2 separate regions of the Homo sapiens genome follow, and region 2 is linked to region 1. Evidence: promoter capture Hi-C in 16 types of primary human blood cells and fetal thymus (Javierre and others, 2016). All regions are on one chromosome and are shown on one strand. The core of a region is centred on a gene start or on the middle of the fragment in contact, and the rest is flanking DNA. Distances in the headings are between cores, read along the strand shown.

The links. The method cuts DNA at HindIII sites, captures the fragments that hold promoters and counts their contacts. A CHiCAGO score of 5 or more calls a contact.
Region 2: a fragment that was not itself captured here is called in contact with the fragment with the promoter of SLC25A36 in region 1 in 1 of 17 cell types (fetal thymus); the score reaches 6.1 in fetal thymus.

Annotation. Positions count from the first base shown.
Region 1 is chr3:140,939,871-140,946,498 of GRCh38, reverse strand. SLC25A36 (solute carrier family 25 member 36) reads right to left here and starts at 4,663. Exons shown (of 7, transcript NM_001104647.3): 1 at 4,404-4,663. The coding sequence starts at 4,444. RefSeq lists enhancers at 3,510-3,739, 3,379-4,226, 4,320-4,689. The HindIII fragment of the contact is 2,098 bases long and covers 3,642-5,739 here.
Region 2 is chr3:141,192,714-141,199,114 of GRCh38, reverse strand. No RefSeq gene overlaps it. Among named protein-coding and RNA genes, the nearest start is that of PXYLP1, 36 kb to the left of the region's middle. The HindIII fragment of the contact is 8,441 bases long and covers 1-6,401 here.

The DNA.
Region 1 (6,628 bases), core at 3,414-5,913:
TCCCTACTTCTGCCCCTGTCCCACGCATAGTCTAGCAGAGACCAATTAGCCTTTAAAAATTCTATGACTCCTCCCATTTCAATAGAAAAGGTCAAAGTCCTTTAAAGGCTTAAGAAGGCTCTATCATTCTGGCCATACCTGCTTCATTATCTCACTCTTACCAGGGCTAGGGTCTTACTGGGGCTAGTTCCTTTTGTATAGCTAATTCTCTCCCTTCCAAGTCTTTACTCAAATGTCATCTCAGTAAGATTCATCATCATTCGATTTAGTACTAGAGTGCACTCCTACCACAGTCCTTTAAGGTGCACCATTTTTTTTCCCACAGCACTTAATGCCTTCTAGTTAATGATAACAATTACTAGACAAGACAGTCCCTTGTCTTGCTGTCCGGTTGTCGATATTCTTCAATACTATATTACAACCAGACAAGTGGTAGGTTCTTAAAGGTTAGCTGAAATGTAGAATCTGAACTATACCAGTAAACTTTTCATACTGTTATATTAAAATCCACTGGTCTATTTTAAAATCTGAATGACTTTTTTACCCATGGCTGACTCCATGAAAAAAAGAAGCTAGTGTAGCCTGCAATTGAAACAACGCAGAACCACACTTCGGCATACAGTTACTTCATGTCTATTTCCCATTTTGTCACACAAAATATTAAATATAGAGGTATTCAAAGGTTGTGATTTAATAAAATTAGTATTTTTACTCCTTCATGAGCATTCTTAGGTTAAACTGGCTTTTTTTTTTTTTTTTAATTGCAAGTACCTGGAGGTGAATACGATGACTACAGTCTGGTGCCACTGCCTTCATGCATGCTAAGGCATCAGCAGTTTTACCCATCATTGCTTTTGCACCATCAGGACAAATGTCAACAAATTTGTGCCAATAATGTATTTTTATGAAAATAGTTTTAAACTCTCAGACCACAACAAGGGTCTCAAGAAGGAGAATCCCTGACCCACAATGTTGTGCTACACTAATCCATTTGCAGAAAAATGGTAGCTGCTGTGCTACAGTAATTCATTTATAGAAAAATGATTTGAGAATATTCTCCAACAGGATAAGAAACTTCCCTTAGTTTTGCAGTCTATTAGTAAGAAGAACGGAATGCATTTTTAGAAGGAAAAAAAGGGAAGGAGGATGTCTGAATGTTTGTCTCCCCCAAAACTAGTAAGATGAAATCCTACTCACATCCCAAGGTGATAGTATTAGGAGGTAGACGCTTTCAAGGTGATTAGGTCATGAGATTGTAGCCCTGACATTTGGGATTAGTACCTTTATAAGACACCAGAGATCTTGGCTAGCCTCTCCTACTACGTGAGGATACAGCAAGAGAGTATCTTCTATGAGGAAGTAGACCATCATCAAAAAACCTGTTACTGCTTTAATTTTGAACTTCCCAGCCTTCAGGACTGTTAGAAATATTTGTTATTTATAAGCCACCAGTTTTTGGTATTTTGTAATAGCAGCTTAAACAGAGCAAGACAGAGGAAAAGGAGAGGTAGTAAAAATTAAGGAAATGAGACTAATAAAAATATGGTCAGAGTGAAGCGGAAATAAATCACATTAATTATACTTTTAAGTATTCTACTTCTGCCCTGATCTTCAAGCAAACAGGTGAAATAATTTAACAAATATCGTTCATTATACCCAAATGGGAATTTCCTACTGAATAAATAATAATGATTGAGCAAATGAATGAGCTCCAGGATATAAAAATAGACAGTTCTTAGATCATCTTTGATTTTACTCACTACATATATTAAATTATCTGTCATAAGAGCTGCAAAGAAAATACTTCATCCACTTAAAATCTTAAGGTATATAGCTCCTATTTGAGACAATATCTCCCTCAAATAGAAAAAAAATGAGCTGCCTCTGTAGATATATGCAGCTGATACAATAACTAGACAATGTACAATTCTATCAGTCTTTAAAAATACATTTAATAGTGCTTTCATCTCTATATACATACATTAGAGGTACAGCTAAAATTAAATCACATTTACACCTTTTTTACAGGCTGTCATGATATCGTTCCTTAACTCAATTAACCTAACTACTGACCTTACAAACTCTGAATATTAACTCTGGCAAAAGCATAATGGGATCAAAGGGTGTCTTAAAGAAAGCACGAGTTATGCATGTGAGTATTTCACCCAGAACCAAGGTCCAGTGCTGGTGTTTAACAATACAGCTACTAGGCTATTAGAAATGTGGGATTCCGATAAACATATTTGAATATTACAATTCTACTTATCAGAAAAACAACTTAAAGGCTCCATATTCGGAAAACCCTTGCCTAAGATTAAATACTCTGTGAAAGGTTACTCTTGGTTCTTTTAAAATATACTGGGCTTCCTTTAAAAAGATAAGGTGTGTTTTACTGAACTCACTTATGTAACCACATATAAAAATAAAATCAAGATGAGATGCAAAGGAAGAGAAATTATACGGCTGAGCACCTATCTTGTATCAAATCCTACATACCATATCTCATTTAATACTCTAACTACATATGCTAGACTGGGGGGGAGGGGATGGAGCTCCTAATCTGTGTGTTTAGATGCTACAAACACCTCCCATTCCTGTTCTTAAACCAGAAAACCTATATTTACATGTTTTTATAACAAAATGATGATCCTAATCCAAAGTGGGAAATTAGTGCAATCAAGCTAACATTTATTTCAAATATAAGTATGCCCCATTTTTAACTAAACTTGATACATGAATCCTGAACGCAGAATAATAGAAATGTTAGGAGCTAGAGAAGGGCTTTAGAGATCATATAATACAACCTCCTAATTTTATAGATGAAGCAATTGAAATAAAAGTGTCCATTTTTCACCCAAATTAAAATAGTGCTAGACTACATCTGCGGTCTCCTCACTTCAGGGTTATAGATCTAATTACAAGAGGGAGCTCAATTATTTGCATGAGATCTTTTCAAGAGCATCTACATAGCTACAGAATTTTTTTAAAAAGATTTAATTTGCCTGATTATTGGCAGTAAACATTTCAGAAATATGGAAAGCAAACTGCCTAAACTGGGTCTCACAGATCAATAGAAAAATATTGTTTTTATGCCAGAACAGTGGCCGGCCCATAATTGGTGTACAACAAATATTTGTTGATGAAAGTGTGCCAACCTAAAGAAAGTATTGCCATCACTGGCTCAATAGAGTCCATATGTCCAACTCAAAGCAAGGCACCGTGAATAGAACTGCGTGTGTATTTCTTTCATATTCTTAAAAGTCGATCTAAAAACTGCAGGATTTAAGAAGATGCCGGTAAGAGTCTCAGCATAATTCACCGAAGGCATTTTTGATAAGAAAACTCTTTATAATCCTCCAAATAAGTAACTCTTAAAATTGCTATGATTCTCCAAATGATTTAGAAGGAGCAAATCTAAACAGGAGGCTAAACTGGAAGCTCTAACACTCATTTTGGCAATCAGGGAACTAAGACTTTAGGCTTAGTCCTAATCTTGCACACACATAGTAACTATTAACACTATCTTCAAAAAATCTGACCTCTCTCCACTCCTACTTTCTCCTAAGCAGCAGAAAAGCAAGCGGTGTTCAAGAGGGGTGGTTTTCTCGAAAGGAATCTGACCCCAAAGGTACTGGAAAGCTTTGCACCCCATTCACCACCTGGAAAACCTCGGGCAAGAAATTTTCCAAGGGCTAGAAACACCCTACAGCAACCACGGGAGAATACCAAAGCCTTCCCCGCTCGATCCCGTAGCCCCCTTACCACCCACCTTGCAAAGCCGAGCCCGGAAATGAGCGGCCCGAGGTCCGAGGTGGGGCGTGAGTGACGTGCAGAGGCCCAAGCGAGCGCTGCAAGGAGCGAGGGCTAAAGGAGTCTCCGGCGCCCATTTTGTCCTCAGCCTCCGCACTTTCCGCCCCGTCCCCTTGGGCCATGCAACCTACGCGAAATCCGAAGCCAGGCTCCTCAAAGCGGCCCTGGATCCCCGACGCCTGCTAGATTGCGGCGTGCGGCCAGGTCCAGCGGCGTCCGGGTAATCAAGCGCCGACCCCAGCTCTTGCCCGCGTCTCCTCAGACGCATGGATTCGGCCTCCGCCTCACCCCGGCCCCGCGGGCCCAAAACCTCACTCCCGGCCCGGGTTTCATGCCTCAACCCTCTTTGCCCGGGCCTCACTCTCTCGCCCTCGGGCCCGGGCCTCACCCCCTTGCTTCCCCGAACCGGAGCCCCCCTCACCACCCACGGGCTGGGTCGCTCCCCTCACCCGCAGGCCCGTGGCAGCTCCCCGCCCAGGCCTCACTCCCGCCCCCCCACCCCCCCACCCCCCTCGGCCCCCCTCGCCCCCCTCGCCTGCGTCTTCGGCCCCAGCACCCTCAGCCCCAGTGCGCACGCCCCGCCAGGACCTTACCCTCCGGCAAACAGATGCACCAGCGTGTCCCTCTGGCTCATTCTCTCTCCCGCATGTCCTCCGGCCGCTGAGGCGGGACGCGGATCTGGCCGCCCGCTACGGCAGGCGGCTTCGGTCCCGGACTGGAGACGCACAGCGCCCCGGGGACGGCGAGGAGAGCTGGCCGAGATGCGGCTGCAGAAAGCAACCGGCACAGCCCTCCCCGCGGCACTCCAGCCGCGCCACCGCCTGCCTAAGCGCGCCGCCCTTCACCAGAGGCTGAAAGCGACGCAGCGCAGCGCGACGGAGAGTGGGCGGGGGATGGTAGGGGGAAGATGACTATTTGATGGCTCCCGACATAAACAGAGGCTCCCATTGGTGTGAGCGTCGTGACGTCACGCACTCTGCAGTGTTCTTTCACGTGATCCCTACGGGCTCTTTCAATGAAAGGGGCCGCGAGGCGTGGCCAGAACGCGTGCCCGGAGGGTGGTAGGTCACCGCGCTCCTAGCACCTGAGACCTGGGGCGCCCCTGGCCTGAGTGAACGCGCCAATCACGGCTGCACTCTCCTGAACAGGGAACTGGCGGGGCGGGAAAAATCGACTTGGTTCCGGGTTCGCAAGCGGATTTACTTTGAAAAAATTGGATTTATGACCCAGCAGTTCCCTTGGTGTCTATCTCAGAGTAACCCTCGCACAATGCATAAAAAGGTTTGTGCACGGATACTCCTATATAGGCTCACAAACAGTACAGAATTATGAACAATGCTTGCAGTTGCAGAAAATTGAAATCAGTGGGGGAATGAAGAAATAAATCATGAAACATTCCTACTATGGAATATTATGCAATCGTGACAAGGGATGAGGTGATTCCATATGGCAAAAAATCTCCCGAAGTGTGTAATAAGTAAAAAAGGCAAGTAGAATTAAAATACTTGGGTTTGTTTTTAAAAGAATAAAAGTTCATGGGAAATGGAATTAAAAGATAAAATTTAAAAATATAAACTTTGTTTTTCAACGTAAGCTCCATCAAGTTAAAGACAGTTTGGTAAGTGATGATACCGGCTCTTTAGTCCATCTGTAAAGAATTGAGGGTTCTGGGAATTTAATCATGAAAATGCAGGCTTTTTTACGTTATTAACTGAAGAAAAATGGGTGCCATTTACAGATTTTTCACGATTAGAAAACAAAAATATGTCAGAAGGAGCCAGGTCAGGAATGTAAGATGGATACCTGATAGTTTCCCATCGAAATCCCTGGAAAAATGCCCTTATTTAAAGAGAGGAATGAGCAGGAACATTGTCCTGATGGAGAAGGACTCTCTGGTGAAGATTTCGTAGGTGTTTTTATGCTAAAGCTTTGCTTCACTTTCTCCTATAGTAAGCGGATGTTATTGCTCTTCCACCCTCCAGAAAGTCAACAGGCAAAATACCTTGAGCATCCCAAAAAGCTGCTGCTATGACTTCGGCTCTTGACCAGTCTACTTTTGATTTGACTGGACCACTTGCACCTCTTGGTAACTATTGCTTTGATCCAGAATCATACTGAGAAAGCTATGTTTGATCTCCTGTTACAATTCTTCAAAGAAATGTTTCAATATATGATCCCACTTGTTTACAATTTCCATTGAAAGCCCTGCTCTTGTCTGCAGCTCATCTGGGTGCAACAGTTTTGCACCCATCGGGTGAAAAGTTTGCTCAACTTCAGTTTTTCAGTGAGAAATGTGTAAGTAGAACCAGTTGAAATGTCTATGGTGTTGTATATTATTTGTGCTGTTAATTGTGGGTCCTCTTCAATTAGGGCACACCGAAGAATAATCTTTTCCTCAAAAATCGATGTGGATTGTCTGCCACTGCAGGCTTCCTCTTCAACATTGTCTCATCCCTTCTGCAAACAAGTTATCCATTTGTAAACTTCAGATTTCTTTGGGGGAATTTTCCCCATCAAACTTTTGTAAAGCATCCTTGATTTCACCATTCTTCCACCCAATCTTGACCATAAATTTGATGTTTTTTCTTGCTTCAATTCATGCTGCTCTGATAGGGGCTGTTTTCAAGCTGATGTCTTATCCTTTTTAGTGCCTCAAACTAGATCTTGTTCAGATACATTATAACAAGTGAGTACGAATTTTTGGTGCAAAAAAGTTTGAAATTCATACATAGTTTTTTTTTTAGTTAGGAAAAATGTTTATATAAATTTAAATTTACATATATTCCATCCTTCTCTTAACTGAAAAGAGTAAGAAACT
Region 2 (6,401 bases), core at 1,431-3,930, 250 kb before region 1:
TTCCATATGAATTTTAAAATAGTTTTCTCTAGTTCTGTGAAGAATGTAAATGGTAGTTTAATAAGAATAGCATTGAATCTATCAATTGCTTTGGGCAGTATAGCCATTTTAATGATGTTGATTCTTCCTATCCATGAGCATGGAATATTTTTCCATTTGTTTGTGTCCTTTCTGATTTCTTTGAGCAGTGGTTTGTGGTTCTCTTTGTAGAGACCTTTCACCTCCTTAGTTAGCTGTATTTCTAGGTATCTCTTCTTTTTGCGGCAATTGTGAATGGGAATTTTTTCCTGATTTGGCTCTCAGCTTCACTGTTGTTGGTGTATAGAAATGCTAGTGATTTTTGCACATTGATTTTGTATCCTGAGACTTTGCCGAAGTTGTTTATCAGCTTATAAACTTTTGTGCTGAGACTATGGTGTTTTCTAGATATGGAATCATGTCATCTGCAAACAGTGATAATTTGACTTCCTCTCTTCCTATTTGGATGCCATTCATTTTTTTTCTCCTGCCTGATTGCCCTGGCCAGAATTTCCAATACTACGTTGAATAGGAGTGGCAAAAGAGGGCATCCTTGTCTTCTGCCAGTTTTCAAGGAAAATGCTTCCAGCCTTCGCCCATTCAGTATGATGTTGGCTGTGGGTTTGTCATACATGGCTCTTATTATTTTGAGGTATGTTCCTTCAATACCTAGTTTATGGAGAGTTTTTAACATGAATTAATGTTGAATTTTATAAAAATCCTTTTCTGCATTCTATTGAGAAAATTATGTGCTTTTTGTCTTTGGTTCCATTTATGTAATGAATCACATTTATTGATTTGTGTATGTTGAACCAACTTTGCATCCACAGTGAAGCCTGCTTGATCATGGTGGATAAACTTTTTGATGTGCTACTGGATTTGGTTTGCCAGTATTTTGTTGAGGATTTTTGCATTGATGTTCATCTAGGATATTGGCCTAAAGTTTCCTTTTTTTGTTGTATGTCTGCCAGGTTTTGGTATCATTCTATGATGCTGGCCTCAGAATGAGTTAGGGAGAAGTCCCTCTTTCTCAATTTTTTGGAATAGCTTCAGTAGGAATGGTACTAGCTCTTCTTTGTATGTCTGGAAGAATTGAGCTGTGAATCTGTCTGGTCTTGAACTTTTTTTGATCAGTAGGCTATTTCTTACTGCCACAATTTCACCACTCGTTATTGATCTATTCAGGGATTCAATTTATTCCTGTTTCAGTCTTTGAAGGGGTATGTGTCAAGGAATTTATCCATTTCTTCTACATTTTCTACTTTATATGCACAGAGGTGTTTATAATATTCTCTGATGGTAGTTTGTATTTCTGTGGGGTCAGTGCCAATATCCTCCTTGTTGTTTCTGGCTGTGTTTATTTGAATCTTCTCTCTTTTCTTCTTTATTAGTCTAGCTAGTGGTTTACCTATTTTATTAATTTTTTTTCAAAAAACCAGCTCCTGGATTCATTGATTGTTTGAAGGGTTTTTCATGTCACTATCTCCTTCAGTACAGCTCTATTTCTTGACTTCTGCTAACTTTGGCATTTGTTTGTTCTTTGTTCTCTAGTTCTTTTAGAACTAGTTTCTTTTGTGATGTTAGGTTGTTAACTTGAGATCTGACTTTTTGATGTGGTCATTTAGTGCTATAAATTTTCCTCTTAACACTCCCTTAGCTGTGTCCCAGAGATTCTGGTATATGGTATCTTTGTTCTCATTAGTTTGAAAGAACTCCTTGATTTCTGCCTTAATTTCATTATTTATTAAAAAGTCATTCAGGAGCATGTTATTCAACTTCCATGAAATTGTATGGTTTTGAGTGAATTTCTTAGTTTTGATTTTGAATTTGATTGCACTGTGGTCCAAGAGAGTGTTTTTTATGATTTTGGTTCCTTTGCATTTGCTGAGGAGTATTTTACTTCCAATTATGTGATCAACTTTACAGTAAGTGCCATGTAGCAATGAGAAGAATGTATATTCTCTTGTTTTTGGGTGGAGAGTTCTGTAGGTGTCTATCAAGTCCATTTGATCCAGTGCTGAGTTCAGGTCCTGAATGTCTTTGTTAATTTTCTTTCTCAATAATCTAATATTGTCAGCGGGGTTTTAGAGTCTCCCACTATTATTGTGTGGGAATCTAAGTCTCTTTGAAGGTCTCTAAGAACCTGCTTTATGAACCTGGGTGCCCCTGTGTTGAGCGCATATATATTTAGGATAGTTAGATCTTCTTGTTGAATTGAACCCTTTACCATTATGTAATGCCCTTCTTTGTCTTTTTTGATCGTGTTGGTTTAAAGTCTGTTTCGTCAGAAACTAGGATTGCAACCCCTGTTTTCTTCTGTTTTCCATTTGCTTGGTAGATTTTCCTCCATCCCTTTATTTTGAGGCTATGTGTGTTGTTGCATGTGAAATGACTCTCTTGAAGATACCATACCATTGGACTTTGGTTCTCTATCCAGCTTGCCACTCTATGTTTTTTAAACTGGGGCATTGTGCCATTCACATTTAAGGTTAGTATTGGTATGTATAGATTTGATCCTGTCATCATGATGTTAGCTGTTTATTTTGCAGACTTACGTGGTTGCTTTATAGTGTCACTGGTCTGTACATTTCAGTGTGTTTTTGTAGTGTCTGCTAATGGTCTTTCTTTTCCATATTTAGTGCTTTCTTCAGGAAGTAAGGCAGGTCTGGTGGTAACAAATTCCCTCAGCATTTGTTTGTCTGAAAAAATCTTATTTCTACTTTGCTTATGAAGTTTAGTTTTGCTGAATATTAAATTCTGGGTTGGAATGTTTTTCTTTAAGAATGTCGAATATCGGCCCTCAATCCCTTCTGGCTTGTAGAATTTCAGCTGAGGGGTCTGCTGTTAGTCTTATGGGCTTCCCTTTGTAGGTGACCTAGCCTTTCTCTCTAGCTGCCTTTAACATTTTTTCTTTCATTTCCACCTTGGAGAATCTGATGATTATGTGTCTTAGGGGATGATATTCATATTGAGTATCTCACTGGGGTTTTCTGCATTTCCTGAATTTGAATGCTGGCCTCTCTAGCTAGGTTGAGGAAGTTCTCAAGGATATACTGAAATATGTTTTTCAAGTTGGTTCCATTCTCCCCATCTCTTTCAGGTACACTGATCAATCGTAGATTCAGTCTCTTCACATAATCTCATTCTTTTTCTTGCAGGTTTTGTTCATTCCATTTTATTCATTTTTTCTCTCTCGTCTGCCTGTCTTATTTCAGAAAGGCAGTCTTCAAGCTCTGATATTCTTTCCTCCGCTTGTTGTATTCTGCTATTAATACTTGTGATTGCATTATGAAGTTCCTGTACTGTGTCTTTCAGCTCTATCAGGTCAGTTACAGTCTTCTCTATACTGGCTACTTTGTTAGCTCCTGCAATATTTTAGCATGATTCTTAGCTTCCTTGCATTGAGTTACAATGTACTCCTTTAGTTCCATGAACTTTCCATATTCTGAACTTTCCATATTCTGAATTCTACTTCTGTCATTTTAGCTATCTCAGCCTCATCTGAAATTTTGCTGGAGAGGTTATGTGGTCATTTGGGAGAAAGAGGACACTTTGGCTTTTTGAGTTTTCAGTGGTCTGGCACTGACTCCTTCTCATCTTTCTGGGCTTATTTGCCTTCAATCTTTGAGGTTACTGACTTTTGGATGGATTTTTTTTTTCTTTTAACAGTCTGGCCACCTTTCTGTCAGGCTGCTACAGTATGCTGGGGGTCTGCTCCAGTGCATGGTCACCTCAGATTTTTCAGTGTCTGGAGGTATCACCAGTGAAGGCTGCAAAACAGCACAGATGGCAGCCTGCCCCTTCCTTTGGAAGTTCTGTTCCAAGGTGGTATGGACCTGTTGCTGGCTCAAATGCATCTGTAGATGGCCAGGGACTCCAGATAGGAGGTCTCATTCAGTCAGAAAGAATGGGATTGGGACCTCCTTAAAAAAGTAGTCTGGCCATATGTTCATAGAGCAGCTGTGCTGTGCTGGGGATACACTTCAGCCCCTGGTCACCTTGGACATTCCAAAGCCCAAAGGCTGGAATGGCTAAGTTGACCAAACAGCCAAGATGGCAGCCTGCCCCTCCTCCTGGGGGAGGAGGTATCCATCCCAAGGAGTCCTGAAACTTCTGTCAGCTGGAGAACACTGGTGAGTGTAGCTGGAGGCTCTGGTTAGGAGGCTCCACTTGGTGATGAGGAATGAGTTTGTCCTCCCTCTTAAAAAAGCAGTCTGGCCATGTTTTCATGGGTCTGTTGTGCTGTGCTGGGATACTACTTCCACCCCTGGTTGGCTTGGACTCTCTAAAGCCTGAAGGCTGGAACTCCTAAGTCACCCAAACAGCAAAGATGGTGGCCCACCCCTCCCTCTGGGAGTTCTGTCCCAGGGAGTTTTCAAATTTCTGCAGGCTGAAGAACACCGGTGGGGGTGGCTGGAGGCTCCGGTTGGGAGGTTCTGCCCAGTGAGGAGGAAGAGGATCAGGGACTGCTTAAAGAGACACTGTGGCCATGCTTTCATAGAGCAGCTGTGCTGTGTTGGGGTACCTCTCCTTCCCCCAGTCAGCTTGGGCTTTCCAGAGCCCAGAGGCTGGAACGGCTAAGTCACCTAAACAGCAAAAATGGTGGCCCACTCCTCCCTCCGGAAATCTGTCCCGGGGAGTTTTCAAATCTCTGTTGGGCAGAGAACACCGGCAGGGGTGGCTGGAGGTCCCATTTGGGAGGTTCTGCCCAGTGAGGAGGAACGGGATCAGGAACCTGCTTTAAAGAAGCAGTCTGGCGGCCGGCCGCGGTGGCTCACACCTGTAATACCGGCACTTTGGGAGGACAAGGCGGGTGGATCATGAGGTCAGGAGATCGAGACCATCCTGGCTAACATGGCGAAACCCCGTCTCTACTAAAAATACAAAAAATTAGCCGGGTGTGGTGGCAGGCGCCTGTAGTCCCAGGTACTCAGGAGGCTGAGGCAGGAGAATGGCGTGAACCCAGGAGGCAGAGCTTGCAGTGAGCCGAGGTCATGCCACTGCACTCCAGCCTGGGTGACAGAGCGAGACTCCATCTCAAAAAAAAAAAAAAAAAAGAAAAAGAAGCAGTCTGGCCACACTTTCACAGAGCAGCTGTGTTATGTTGGGGTACCACTTCTGCCCTGGTCAGGTGGGCTTTCCAAAGACTGCAGGCTGGAACGGCTAAGTCACCCAAACAACAAAAATGGTGGCCCACCCTTCCCTCTGAAAGCTCTGTCCCAGGGAGTTTTCAAATCTCTGTTGGCCAGAGAACACTGGTGGGGTGGCTGGAGGCTCTGGTTAGGAGGTCCTGCCTGGTGAGGAGGAATGGATTGGGAACTTGCTTAAAGAACAACAGTCTGGCCATGTTTTGGTAGAGCAGCTGTGCTGTGCTGGGGGATCCCTTCTGCCCCTGGTCAGTTTGGACTCTCCAAAGCCCACAGACTGGAACAGCTAAGTTGCCCTAACAGCAAACCTGGCAGCCTGCCCTACCCCCAGGAGCTCCATCCCAGGGAGGCGCCATGCTGCTACTGGTGTCTGGCTGGAATTTTTATCCTGTGAGGCACTGTGGAAGTGGGGCCTGCAGACCATTAGTGCTTGGCCCCCTGGATTCAGCCTTTTTCCTAGGGGTATGTATAGGGGTCTAACCTGCTTTGTCAGAATTGCGGTTACTTTTGCTGGGAAGCCCGGAGCTGGAGTATCCAAAGCTCCTGGGTCTCCATGCACGCGTGCCTGAGCAGGTGCTCTGCTGAGACTCCACATAGCTTCGTGTGTCAGGCTGAAGGACCTGACTAAGTGGGTTCACAAGGGATATCCTGATTCAAGGGTTGCAAAGAACCGTGGGAGAAATGTGGTTTCCTGGGGTCGCCCACTCACCCACTGCTTCCCTGGGCAGGGGAGGTTCCCTTGGCTCTATGTTGCTCCTAGGTGGGCTGTCATCCTGCCTTGCTTTTCTCTATCCTCCCTGGTCGTGTTGTTTCCTTGATTAGTCGCAGTGCGAGTATCTGGAGGTTTCTGTTGAAGGTGCGTATTTATTCACCCTTTCCGTTCCTCTTCCTAAGAGCCACACACACTAGCTGCTTCTAGTCGGCCATCTTGGCCACTCCCCCTAGACTAGAGATCTTCAATGTCTTCTTGAATCTTTACCTGCAATCCTCAGCTGTGACCCAAGCCTTGAATTTTCCTAACAATCCCCTTTGTCTATCTCCCCCTGCCCTCTAAACTGACCTACCCTGTGGCCCAATCTATCAAGATACTTGACTCTGCTATGAAACTGGTAAGGCAGTTTGTAATAATTGGATGATGTACTGTTTATTTTTCATTTTATTGGGAGAGAAGTTACATTTTATGGAGCATCTACTTTGTGCTAGGTGTTTTAACTCAGTTATCTTATTCACCACAAA